Regions from separate parts of the Homo sapiens genome. Here regions 2 and 3 are each linked to region 1. Evidence: promoter capture Hi-C in 16 types of primary human blood cells and fetal thymus (Javierre and others, 2016). All regions are on one chromosome and are shown on one strand. Each heading gives the region's core, a stretch centred on a gene start or on the middle of the fragment in contact. The rest is flanking DNA. Distances are from core to core; before and after follow the strand shown. Region 1 holds the start of SEC61G (SEC61 translocon subunit gamma). Region 2 overlaps FIGNL1 (fidgetin like 1). Region 3 overlaps ZPBP (zona pellucida binding protein).

Region 1 (3,900 bases), core at 740-3,239:
TAAGTACCTGGAATTGGAATTGTGGAGCCATAGGTGGTGTATATATGCTTCATATTATGATAAACTACTAAACTTTTCCCAAAAGGGTTATGCCATTTTACACTCCTAGTAACCAGGAATTAGAGTTCTAGAGTTCTGATTGTTACGTATTTTTGCACAGATTTGCTGTTATCAGCCTGTTTTTTTTTTTTTTTTTTTTTACAGACGGAGTCTTGCTCTGTTGCCCAGGCTGGAGTGCAGTCGTGTGACCTCAGCTCACTGCAACCTCCACCTCCCGGGTTCAAGGGATTCTCTTGCCTCAGCCTCCTGAGTAGCTAGGGTTACAGGCATGCGACACCATTCCAGACTAATTTTTGTATTTTTAGTGGAGACGGGGTTTCTCCACGTTGGTCTGGCTGGTCTCAAACTCCCGAAATCAGGTGAGTAGACAATTATAACAATACACTGTAATGAAAGTTATTTGAATGTGGCCTCTCCCAGATTACCTTCTGGTACACATCTCTTTTTGAACCAGATTTTCTTGGATAAGGGGAACCACTGTATGTGTTACTTGATTTTCTGTGTTTTGCTGAAAATACTGTCAACTCAGACATTTGGTGGTTGGGGTGAACTTGCCAACATGTGATTTTATGTTTTTTTGGAATGAATTATTTTTTTGAAAATTATTTATTGAGCATTTACTGTGTTTAGCACTTTACTAGATGCTATATTATACCCACTTGGAGCTTATGGTCTAGTAAGGGGATTTACAGTGTAGGGAGACAGACCGAGGAATAAATAAATAAATGTTAATACAAATGCTATGCAGCAAATGAAGAAGGTATTGTGAAAAAGGAAAAAAGAGCATGAGATAGACAGGATTGCCTTAGATGGTCACTATAGGCCTCTAAGGAGATGACACATGGGCTGAAGTCCCAGGGATGAAGAACTAGTCAAACGCATCTCAGTCTGTTCAGAATTTAAAAGTGACTCTTAAAGCTAAGGCAAGGTATGTGTAGTGTGTATGGACCACCTACAGTCAGATATACGGAGGTGTGTGACCTCTAACCCTGACCCACTGAATCAATATCTGGAGGTTCTGGGGTTACAAATTTCATTTACTAAAAAACTTAACAGGAGATTTCAGTTACTGAAGAAGTTTAAGAAGCACTGAGAGTTGTAACACGTCTTAATGTTCCATCAGCTCTTCCTGAGTTATATTGTTCCTCAGATCCCGTTATGCTCCATTGCTAAAAGGAAACATGGCCGGGCGCGGTGGCTCACGTCTGTAATCCCAGCACTTTGGGAGGCCGAGGCGGGTGGATCGCGAGGTCAGGAGTTCAAGACCAGCCTGGCCAATATGGTGAAACCCCGTCTCTACTGACGGTTTCAGCCATCCGGCGGGGGGTTCCTGGAATGCATCCTTGTGGGTAAGTGGGGAGCTGTGTGTACATTATGACCACTCCCGTAACCAAACCTAGCGTTTGACAAAGGCCTCAATTACAGCGGCATTCATTACCGTGAATGACAGCCAAAGTCAAAGTTTGGGGTGGGGATACTATTTTGAATTAGGCCATAACATTATATTGCTCATAAGCTTCATTTCGACCAACATTATATACATACAAAAAGTATGTACCGTAAGGACACACATCAAGCTGGACCGCAGGAAAAAAAACCACAACTTAGGATTTACCTAGTCAGCCGCTACTAGAGAGCAAGCACCGCGCAAGGCCGCTGGGGCTCGTGCTGTGGACGTGAGTGGGTTGAGGTCGGGCTGGTGGGGTAACCCGGGATCCAGCCGGAAAAAAGGGATAACGCTAGACTCACACTCCTAAGGAAGGCCAACGCCCCAACTAGCGAGCTCCGCAATGCATCTCTTCCAGGAAGCGTGGCCGGGCGCACGTCGCGCTGCGCTTGCGCACTGAGGTTTCGCGTAAGGAACCAATAGGACGGAGGAGTGGGCGGGCTGTTGGCAGAAACCCGGATTCCGGTTCCGGTGGGCCTCCATCAGCAAGCTCCAGTGCTACGTGTCCCTGGCATTTTAGGTGTCGGTTGGGTAGGTGAGTTTCTTCCCACCGGTCGGTACGGGCGAACGGGGCGGCCACACCTTTGCGACTCTTGGGGGCAGCGGGCGTGGGCGAGCCGGCGTGTCTCCCCGGGCGGCCGTCGCGGGGCGGGCGGTAAGTGGTCCCCTGGCTCAGGGCCGGGGTCTGGCCGCCGACATCCCACCAACTCGGCCTCTGGCGGAAGGCAGACCCAGGGCCGCGGACTCCCGGCGAGCTGGGTGGCCGGCCCGCGGGGCTCCAGGGCTTAGCGTCCTGCCCCGGCGTCTTCTGTGCTGCAGCCAAAGATGATGTCCTGCTGCCCGATCCCTTCGGGGTTGGCTCTGTGTGCTGTTGTGGAGTCCTGTCTGGGAAGAGCTGTACTCAGCTCTGGTCCTGCCGCCGCTTCCGTGGTTTAAAGTGAGAGCATTGGTCTAGAGTCTAGTTCGAGAGATCATAGTTGGTTTTTGGATCTCTACCCCTGACATTGAGTGCGGTATTGTGTGTAGCGTGCGTTTTTCTGGATAAAGAATTCTTAGCTTCCTTCGTGACAACTATGATTACAAAAAGTTTAAGCCCTTTGGATTTCAAGAGCAAAGTTGAGTGAAATACTGAGAAAACAGACATTACTGTGTTTTTGCCCCCAGAACGTTGCAGAATTCCTGGTGTTTCATTGACATTATTTCATTTCGTTGTCCACACCCTACACTAAGGAAGGCAACTGGGGCTTACAGAGGTTTACATTCCATAGCCAGTGATTTGAACTACCACCTGGCCACTGTTCTGAGTACTGGAAATGGAGGAAAATACAAATAACACCCTGGCTGCTTTACTTACTATAGCAGTGGCTCTCAAAGCTAAGATCGGATAACATTTCTATTGGGTAATAGATTCCTCAAAAGAACCTGTATGGTAAAATATATAGCCCTGTTTCCTTAAAAGATGTGTTCAAATCGAAAAGTTTGAAATTTAGCTAGTAGCTTCTCAGAATTTGCGTCTTCCTTTAGCCATTCTTTATACTTTAGAAAAGTATGTTGTATTGGCACGTTTTAGAAAAATCAAGGTTGAAATTCACGTTTGCCTCTATTCTAGGCTCTTGCAGCACCGTAGTTGGCATTCACTGTACAAGACACTGGCTTCTGCGTAGTTTAAAATAAAATATGGAAAGTAATTGTTGGATCTCAACACTGATGGTTCCTTAGGAGCGGTGAGGGGACTGTAGAATGAGAAATGGATGGGACTGCAGAGTGAGAAAAGGAATGGATGTGTTACCAATTGCGTAACCTTTTTTAACCTTTTAATAGAGATAGGCTTTTTATATTGCGTGTGCTGTTCTTTGTCAGTGAAGATATCATGAGTAAGATCTGTGCTTTTCTTATTGCCTTTGATAATTAACTGAAATTTCCAAAAATAATATCAATTTAGGCTTTGGAGTTTGTTTTTTGTTTTATTTTAGGAGGTGGAATTGACCCATGTTAGACGTGAATTCAGTGGCTGGTCTCATTTACATCTTTATATAAATGAGCAAGTGCTTATTGTATGAGAACCAATACCAGTGAGTATCTTTTTTGTTTTAAACAGGCAGTCATGGATCAGGTAATGCAGTTTGTTGAGCCAAGTCGGCAGTTTGTAAAGGACTCCATTCGGCTGGTTAAAAGATGCACTAAACCTGATAGAAAAGGTAATTGCTTGACTATGAGAGAAAAAATTAAATCTTTGCATTTTCTAAGCCTTTTGTTTGATTAACATCTTGATTAATAGCCCTTGCATTACTTTGATCAACATTTTTATTGATTGATCCTGCGCGACAGCTTTTTAACGTTGTCACTTCTTCCTAAATTTTTTACTCGTCTAAATTTTTATGTATTTTCAAATG
Region 2 (3,984 bases), core at 1-2,500, 4.3 Mb after region 1:
TCTGTGACCTAGGATAGCAGCATCAAGGAGCATTGTGTACATGCAGAAGTGCACAGTACCTGGAGTGAAACTGCTTGTGTTCGATTTCTGATACCATTCATAACTGGCTGTGTGATCTCAAGTAAGTTCTTTAAGTCTCTCAGCCTCGGTTTGTACATTTGTGTGATAAGGATAATGATAGTTTTCAGATTATTTTCATAGTCATTGCTTGATTTGATTCTTCCAATGGTTCCTCTCACTTTGCAGATAAGAAAACTGAAGAACCAGCTGGGCGCGGTAGCTCACGCCTGTAATCCCAGCACTTTGGGAGGCTGAGGCGGGTGGATTACCTGAGGTCAGGAGTTCAAGACCAGCCTGACTAACATGGCGAAACCCCATCTCTACTAAAAATATAAAAATTATCCAGGGGTGGTGGCAGGTGCCTGTAATCCCAGCTACTTGGGAAGCTGGGGCAGGAGAAGCACTTGAACCCGCGAGGTGGAGGTTGCAGTGAGCTGAGAGCGCCACTGCCCTCCAGCAGCCTGGGTGACAGAGCGAGACACTGTCTCAAAAAAAAATAATAATAAAATAAAAATAAACCATCAGTGATAGTAAAAAGCTCACTTAAGCTCATTCACCTAGTTTTATAGATCAGACTTAAACCTCTTGTTTATTTTGTTTTGCTTTATGTATCTATAGTTCCATTGTTTTTAAAATTTAAAATTAATTTTAAACCTTATGAATGCTTTCCCTACAGATAAAATTATGTAACTAGAACAATTTAACTCATATAAATTATTATTTAATCAAGTCCTTAATTTTGAAGACTTCATATTGATATGTCTTGAATACTTGAAATCTATAGTTAACTAGATATTTCTCTTATAACCTGTCCTTATAAATCTACATTATAAATAAAAAGTCCAGTGTCCCTTCCTTCAGATTAGCAGAAGTTTCAAAATTACATTTAAAGTATTTTCTTTGTTTTCCTTCATACTGATTTTCATTTTTATTGTTTGTTATAGAACCTCTAAAATGCAGACCTCCAGCTCTAGATCTGTGCACCTGAGTGAATGGCAGAAGAATTACTTCGCAATTACATCTGGCATATGTACCGGACCGAAGGCAGATGCATACCGTGCACAGATATTACGCATTCAGTATGCATGGGCAAACTCTGAGATTTCCCAGGTCTGTGCTACCAAACTGTTCAAAAAATATGCAGAGAAATATTCTGCAATTATTGATTCTGACAATGTTGAATCTGGGTTGAATAATTATGCAGAAAACATTTTAACTTTGGCAGGATCTCAACAAACAGATAGTGACAAGTGGCAGTCTGGATTGTCAATAAATAATGTTTTCAAAATGAGTAGTGTACAGAAGATGATGCAAGCTGGCAAAAAATTCAAAGACTCTCTGTTGGAACCTGCTCTTGCATCAGTGGTAATCCATAAGGAGGCCACTGTCTTTGATCTTCCTAAATTTAGTGTTTGTGGTAGTTCTCAAGAGAGTGACTCATTACCTAACTCAGCTCATGATCGAGACCGGACCCAAGACTTCCCGGAGAGCAATCGTTTGAAACTCCTTCAGAATGCCCAGCCACCTATGGTGACTAACACTGCTAGGACTTGTCCTACATTCTCAGCACCTGTAGGTGAGTCAGCTACTGCAAAATTCCATGTCACACCATTGTTTGGAAATGTCAAAAAGGAAAATCACAGCTCTGCAAAAGAAAACATAGGACTTAATGTGTTCTTATCTAACCAGTCTTGTTTTCCTGCTGCCTGTGAAAATCCACAGAGGAAGTCTTTTTATGGTTCTGGCACCATTGATGCACTTTCCAATCCAATACTGAATAAGGCTTGTAGTAAAACAGAAGATAATGGCCCAAAGGAGGATAGCAGCCTGCCTACATTTAAAACTGCAAAAGAACAATTATGGGTAGATCAGCAAAAAAAGTACCACCAACCTCAGCGTGCATCAGGGTCTTCATATGGTGGTGTAAAAAAGTCTCTAGGAGCTAGTAGATCCCGAGGGATACTTGGAAAGTTTGTTCCTCCTATACCCAAGCAAGATGGGGGAGAGCAGAATGGAGGAATGCAATGTAAGCCTTATGGGGCAGGACCTACAGAACCAGCACATCCAGTTGATGAGCGTCTGAAGAACTTGGAGCCAAAGATGATTGAACTTATTATGAATGAGATTATGGATCATGGACCTCCAGTAAATTGGGAAGATATTGCAGGAGTAGAATTTGCTAAAGCCACCATAAAGGAAATAGTTGTGTGGCCCATGTTGAGGCCAGACATCTTTACTGGTTTAAGGGGACCCCCTAAAGGAATTTTGCTCTTTGGTCCTCCTGGGACTGGTAAAACTCTAATTGGCAAGTGCATTGCTAGTCAGTCTGGGGCAACATTCTTTAGCATCTCTGCTTCATCCTTAACTTCTAAATGGGTAGGTGAGGGGGAGAAAATGGTCCGTGCATTGTTTGCTGTTGCAAGGTGTCAGCAACCAGCTGTGATATTTATTGACGAAATTGATTCCTTGTTATCTCAACGGGGAGATGGTGAGCATGAATCTTCTAGAAGGATAAAAACAGAATTTTTAGTTCAATTAGATGGAGCAACAACATCTTCTGAAGATCGTATCCTAGTGGTGGGAGCAACAAATCGGCCACAAGAAATTGATGAGGCTGCCCGGAGAAGATTGGTGAAAAGGCTTTATATTCCCCTCCCAGAAGCTTCAGCCAGGAAACAGATAGTAATTAATCTAATGTCCAAAGAGCAGTGTTGCCTCAGTGAAGAAGAAATTGAACAGATTGTACAGCAGTCTGATGCGTTTTCAGGAGCAGACATGACACAGCTTTGCAGGGAGGCTTCTCTTGGTCCTATTCGCAGTTTACAAACTGCTGACATTGCTACCATAACACCGGATCAAGTTCGACCCATAGCTTACATTGATTTTGAAAATGCTTTTAGAACTGTGCGACCTAGTGTTTCTCCAAAAGATTTAGAGCTTTATGAAAACTGGAACAAAACTTTTGGTTGTGGAAAGTAAGTGGGATACTTGGAATCAAGGCATCTCTGTAGTACAGTCTTCTTTATTTTTTAGCATAGAAAGTTGGGGATGTGTTAATTGTATTTTTAAGAATATATTCTAAGTTCTGTACTTCAAATAATAGCACAGATTTTACATCTGATTGACATAGTGTATGTTAATGTAAGTTTTGCTTTCCAGTGATTACCTGATACGTAAGCCTATTTGAACAAAGTGAGAATGAACTTTTGTTTCTAAGAAGTCTTTATCTTGAAGCTATATAACATGAAAAGTGAGCTCAAATTTTTTTTAGTTGAAGATTACATATAAAGTTGTGTCTGATTAATATTCATCTTTTATTGAAGAAAGTGCCTTCTGATGGCCACATAATTCTTAATGTCAGCTAGTATAATGGTTTACATTTGGACAAAGTATTGCTTAGTGTTATTTAAGTAGATTTAAGATCTCAAAGCTAAAGTGCCAATTTTTACTTTCTTCAGCCAATTTGTTACCTCTTTTATGGTTTTTAATTTTTATCAGGACTAACATTTTCAGAAATAGCAAGGTGTGATCTAGTATTAGATTCACAGAACTGAAAGGTTAATTAAGAATGTTGGTTATTTTCACGGGAGCGTGTGATATTTAACATTAATATTTTATTTGACACTACAGCCTGTAATACTGCTCTCTTTCAAAAACAAGTTTTCAGATTTTTATAACAGACCCATTTTGTTTTATGAAACATGTTCATTACAGAAACATGAGAAAATAGAGATAAGTAAAAAGAATAAAAGTCACTATTATCCTACCACTTTGCGGGACACACTATTAATATTTAAGCATAGATTCTTCCAGATGTTTTGTTTTATACAGCAGTAGGATTGTGTAATGTATTCTCTCTTGTAGCCTATTCTTCAAAGCGTATCTTCACTTTCCATGTTAACATAAATGTCCTTTTATGATTGT
Region 3 (3,807 bases), core at 49-2,548, 4.7 Mb after region 1:
TGGCTACCAAGATGTAAATTAACCGAGATCAGAAGGCTGATCGGAGGCTTTAAAAAGGCTAATTTACTAGCAGCAACCCTTACGGAAAGAGAAGCTGGCTTTGCAAGGAGGCATGAACGCAGGTGTGAACGCAGTCGTGGAAAAAGCTAGTCTGGACAGGAGTTTGAAAGCCGGCTGAGGCTAGAGAAAGATTAATGTGCTTGATGTAAAAGAAAAGCACACTAGAAGGATAAATGTCAGGGCCATAGTATGAAAAAAAAAAAAAACACTGGCCAAGGGCTACTGCACCCAGAAAAACCCAAGACCCCCTGCACCTGCTGTGAAAGACAGGCTATAAAGTGTCAGGAGAAAGCTCAGATGTGCTTTAAAAGTGTCCAGTAGTTGGGCTTTCATATAAGCCAAGAAGAACGATGCCTTGGAGTGAACAAAAGCAGGCTGTTTGTGCACTTCCTACTCCAACCACCTGGCGTCCAATAAGAGAGTCCCTAAGGGCAGCAAGGTTCTGCCACATTTAGATGCCAAATGTCTTGTTCATGGCTAAGCCATTATACAAAGCCACAAAGAGGAGAAAAAAAGGAGTCTCTCCTCTAAGAGGCCAACCAGGAGAAGGCTTTAAAAAAAAATCAAAGAAGCCTTGACTCAGGCTCCAGCTTTAGGACTACCAGATCTAACTAACTAAGCTTTTCTTCTTGTATGTCCACAAGTGAAAGGGAGGCCATAGAGGTTCTAACTCTAAGTTAGAACTTAGAAGGACAACTACTAAATTAGAAGTCCTTAGAAGGACAACTGCCCTGCTCTGACCACACCAGTTCTAACTCTAACTCAAGTCATAAAGTCATGGCATCACCCAGTGACATACTTATCCAGGCAATTAGATTCTGTGGCACTTGGATGGCTTCCTTATTTTAAAACACTAGCTGCCACTGCCCTACTGGTGCAGGAAGCTAATAAACTGACTTTAGAGACTGTGAATACTCTAAACCCGGCTATGTTGCTCCTCATCGAGTCAGTGACAGGAGGCCCTTTTCATTGCTGGGTGGACATGGTAGATGAAATGTTCTCAAGCCGAAGAGATTTGACAGATCAGCTCCTCAAGGACCCAGACATTGAATATTTTACTGATAGAAGCAGTTTCATATTAAAGGGAGTCTGCTGAGCTAGGTATACAGTGGTGACTTTGGACTCAGTAGTGCAGTCTTTGCCTATAGAAACTTCTGCTTAGAAAGCAGAGCTAATATCTCTGACAAGAACTCTTTGGCTAGCAAAAGACCAAAGGACAAATATTTACACAGATTCCAAATATGCTTCTGCTGCTTTGCATGTTCATGAGGCTATTTACGAAGGAAAAAAAAAGATTTTAACTGCTGGAAGTAAAAAAATAAAGTACAAGGAAGAAATTCTACAGCTCTTAAATGCTGTATGGGCCCCCAAAGAGGTGGTTGTGATGTGCTGCAAGGGGCACCAAAAAGCAAGAACACTAAAGGCTAAAAAAAAGGGAAAGGCAAACGTAAAGGCAAATGCAGGCTTTAAGTATGGCCATGCAAAAGATGCATGGTTAGGTATGAAAAAAAATGCGTGTAAGTCTAACAGACCCAGTACACCCTTTCAAACCTGAGGACTTTGTTTAGGTTAAAAAATAGGGTCTAACCACTCTAGGACCCATATAAGATAGGCCCCATATTGTGATCATGTCTACTCCCACTGCTGTTAAAGTTGCAGGTGTCACACCTTGGATTCACCATAGCTGGCTAAAATCAGCGGCAGTAGTGACTCCCGACGACGACCAGTGGATTAGCCAACAAGACCCAGATCGCCCGACCCGAATAGTCCTACAGTGAAACCCAGCCACTGGTAAGGACAACTGCCCTGCTCTGACCACACTGGAGGCTGGTCAGTCTATGCATGGCTGAAGCTTGAGGATCCTGCAAGCTCTGCTCTAATCACATCCCGAAAGCTGACTAGTCTATGCACAGCTGAAGCTAAGAGGACCATCTCTGGATAAGTAAATGTGAATACAATGTATAAGCCTAGTTATAATTCTATCAGTACTGATTGTTCTGTTGTTATGTTATTACTGCAAATGCTGCAAATGTCTATGCCCAGAGGAATGTTTGCCATGCCTATGTGTAGTGTAAGCATAGTTCTATTACCTACGCTAATGTTTTTACCATTTCTGCCTATACTAAAAGGGAAGAAATCTCTAGAAAAATGCCCACACTGTGTAGACACTACCTGGGTAAGGAATACCATAGTTACAACTCTACCATACCTACTATAAATATACAGGAACCAGGTTAGGAACCTGCACATACAACCAGACCACCTATTCAGTCTGTGACCCAGGAAATAATCAGCTATATGTATGTTATGACCCTAAGCTCTTAACCTATAAATTCTGGTTTAAAACACATATTAAATCAGAGAAAAAAAAAAAAGAAAGAGAGCTTATAGCTCAAACCAAAGAAGACCCTCTCTCCTATAAAAGGCCTATTTCCTTGTACTTTGATGCCTGCCATGCTGCATATGTTCATAATCCTAAAACAATCAGAAGCAGTCTGCAATGGTTTAACACAAGAGAGGCTTAAGCAGCAGCAGCCCTAAACATCTGTACAGAAAACCACAAATTGGATGCCCAGACTGTAACATTCAGTGGAATACGCTAACACAGCTCCAACACTTATATTCAGGAAAGACTGCTCTACTAAGTAGTATGTCAACCAAATGAAATTGTAAGACAAGGACATGCAGTTCTTTAAATTTTACTGTCTTAAAGCCAGAGCTACCTTTTTGGTCTACAGGACAGACAGCACTGTTACAAGTTAAAAGGAACAGGCCTTGGAGTTCCACTACTAATTGTCAAAAAGACTAGAAGGACTCAAATGCATCCAACCCTGCAATTCCAGGTCCATAAGTCATTCTAAAAGCATTTTAATCAGTCAGTGCCTGAGCTTCTCCCATCAACCAAAACGATATTTGCTCAACTAGCTGAAAACATAGCTGGCAGCTTAAGAATTTCCTCATACTATGTATGTGGAGAAACAAAAATGGGAGACCAGTGGCCATGGGAGGCAAAAAAATTAATGCCACAAGATCACTTCACTTCACCTAACCCAGTCAGTGAACCAACAGCCTCAGCCAGTGTTTAGTTGTTAAAAACCTCCATAATTGAAAAGTACTGTATCGCCTGATAAGAAAAGGCTTTCACAGAAGCAGTAGGAAAAACAACCTGCCCAAGGCAACAATATTATAATAAGACTAATAACAAAACTCTACGGAGAAACGCCCAGAATGACTCCTACTTACCAGATCCAAACCCTTTCTCTTGATTCTCTACTCTAAGCCACTCTTGAGATCAACTAGAGGCTCCAAATGCTTGGAAGGCACCCTCTGGCCTGTATTAGATCTGTTGAACATGGGCATATTGGCAACTGCTGGCTAAATGGATGAGGGCATGTGTGTTAAAAACAATCAAGCCTTCCTCTTTCTAATTCCTCTAAAGCAAGAGGAACTCTTAAGATATCCAGTTTATGATAAAAATTAAAAAATAGGAGCATACTCACAAAAATAGACACAAATATCAAAGAAATGTGGACATAAGTGTTGTGGGAAGTCAGGGACTACAAACGGAGGGACCGGCTGAAGCCATGGCAGAAGAACGTGGATTGTGAAGATTTTATGGACATTTATTAGTTCCCCAAATTAATACTTTTATAATTTCTTATTCCTGTCTTTACTGCAATCTCTAAACATAAAATTGTAAAGATTTCATGGATACTTATCACTTTCCCAATCAATACCCTTGTGATT

What was found. Contacts are between HindIII fragments. The CHiCAGO score rates a contact against its expected background, and 5 or more counts as called.
Region 2: a fragment that was not itself captured here is called in contact with the fragment with the promoter of SEC61G in region 1 in 1 of 17 cell types (fetal thymus); the score reaches 6.9 in fetal thymus.
Region 3: a contact is called between a fragment that was not itself captured here and the fragment with the promoter of SEC61G in region 1, in 1 of 17 cell types (total B cells). The highest score is 6.2, in total B cells.

The regions. Positions count from the first base shown.
Region 1 is chr7:54,757,300-54,761,199 of GRCh38, reverse strand. It overlaps SEC61G (SEC61 translocon subunit gamma), which reads left to right and starts at 1,989. Exons shown (of 4, transcript NM_014302.4): 1 at 1,989-2,042; 2 at 3,606-3,705. The coding sequence starts at 3,612. It overlaps SEC61G-DT (SEC61G divergent transcript), which reads right to left and starts at 1,887. Exons shown (of 3, transcript NR_110040.1): 1 at 1,676-1,887. RefSeq lists an enhancer at 851-1,786 and a silencer at 2,020-2,339. The HindIII fragment of the contact is 2,422 bases long and covers 1,579-3,900 here.
Region 2 is chr7:50,444,318-50,448,301 of GRCh38, reverse strand. It overlaps FIGNL1 (fidgetin like 1), which reads left to right. Exons shown (of 4, transcript NM_001287492.4): 3 at 13-121; 4 at 1,005-3,984. The coding sequence starts at 1,015. The coding sequence ends at 3,039. Among named protein-coding and RNA genes, the nearest start is that of FIGNL1, 4.0 kb to the left of the region's middle. RefSeq lists an enhancer at 752-1,951. The HindIII fragment of the contact is 2,949 bases long and covers 1-2,724 here.
Region 3 is chr7:50,064,890-50,068,696 of GRCh38, reverse strand. All of the region lies in intron 3 of ZPBP (zona pellucida binding protein), which reads left to right. Among named protein-coding and RNA genes, the nearest start is that of ZPBP, 26 kb to the left of the region's middle. The HindIII fragment of the contact is 1,232 bases long and covers 683-1,914 here.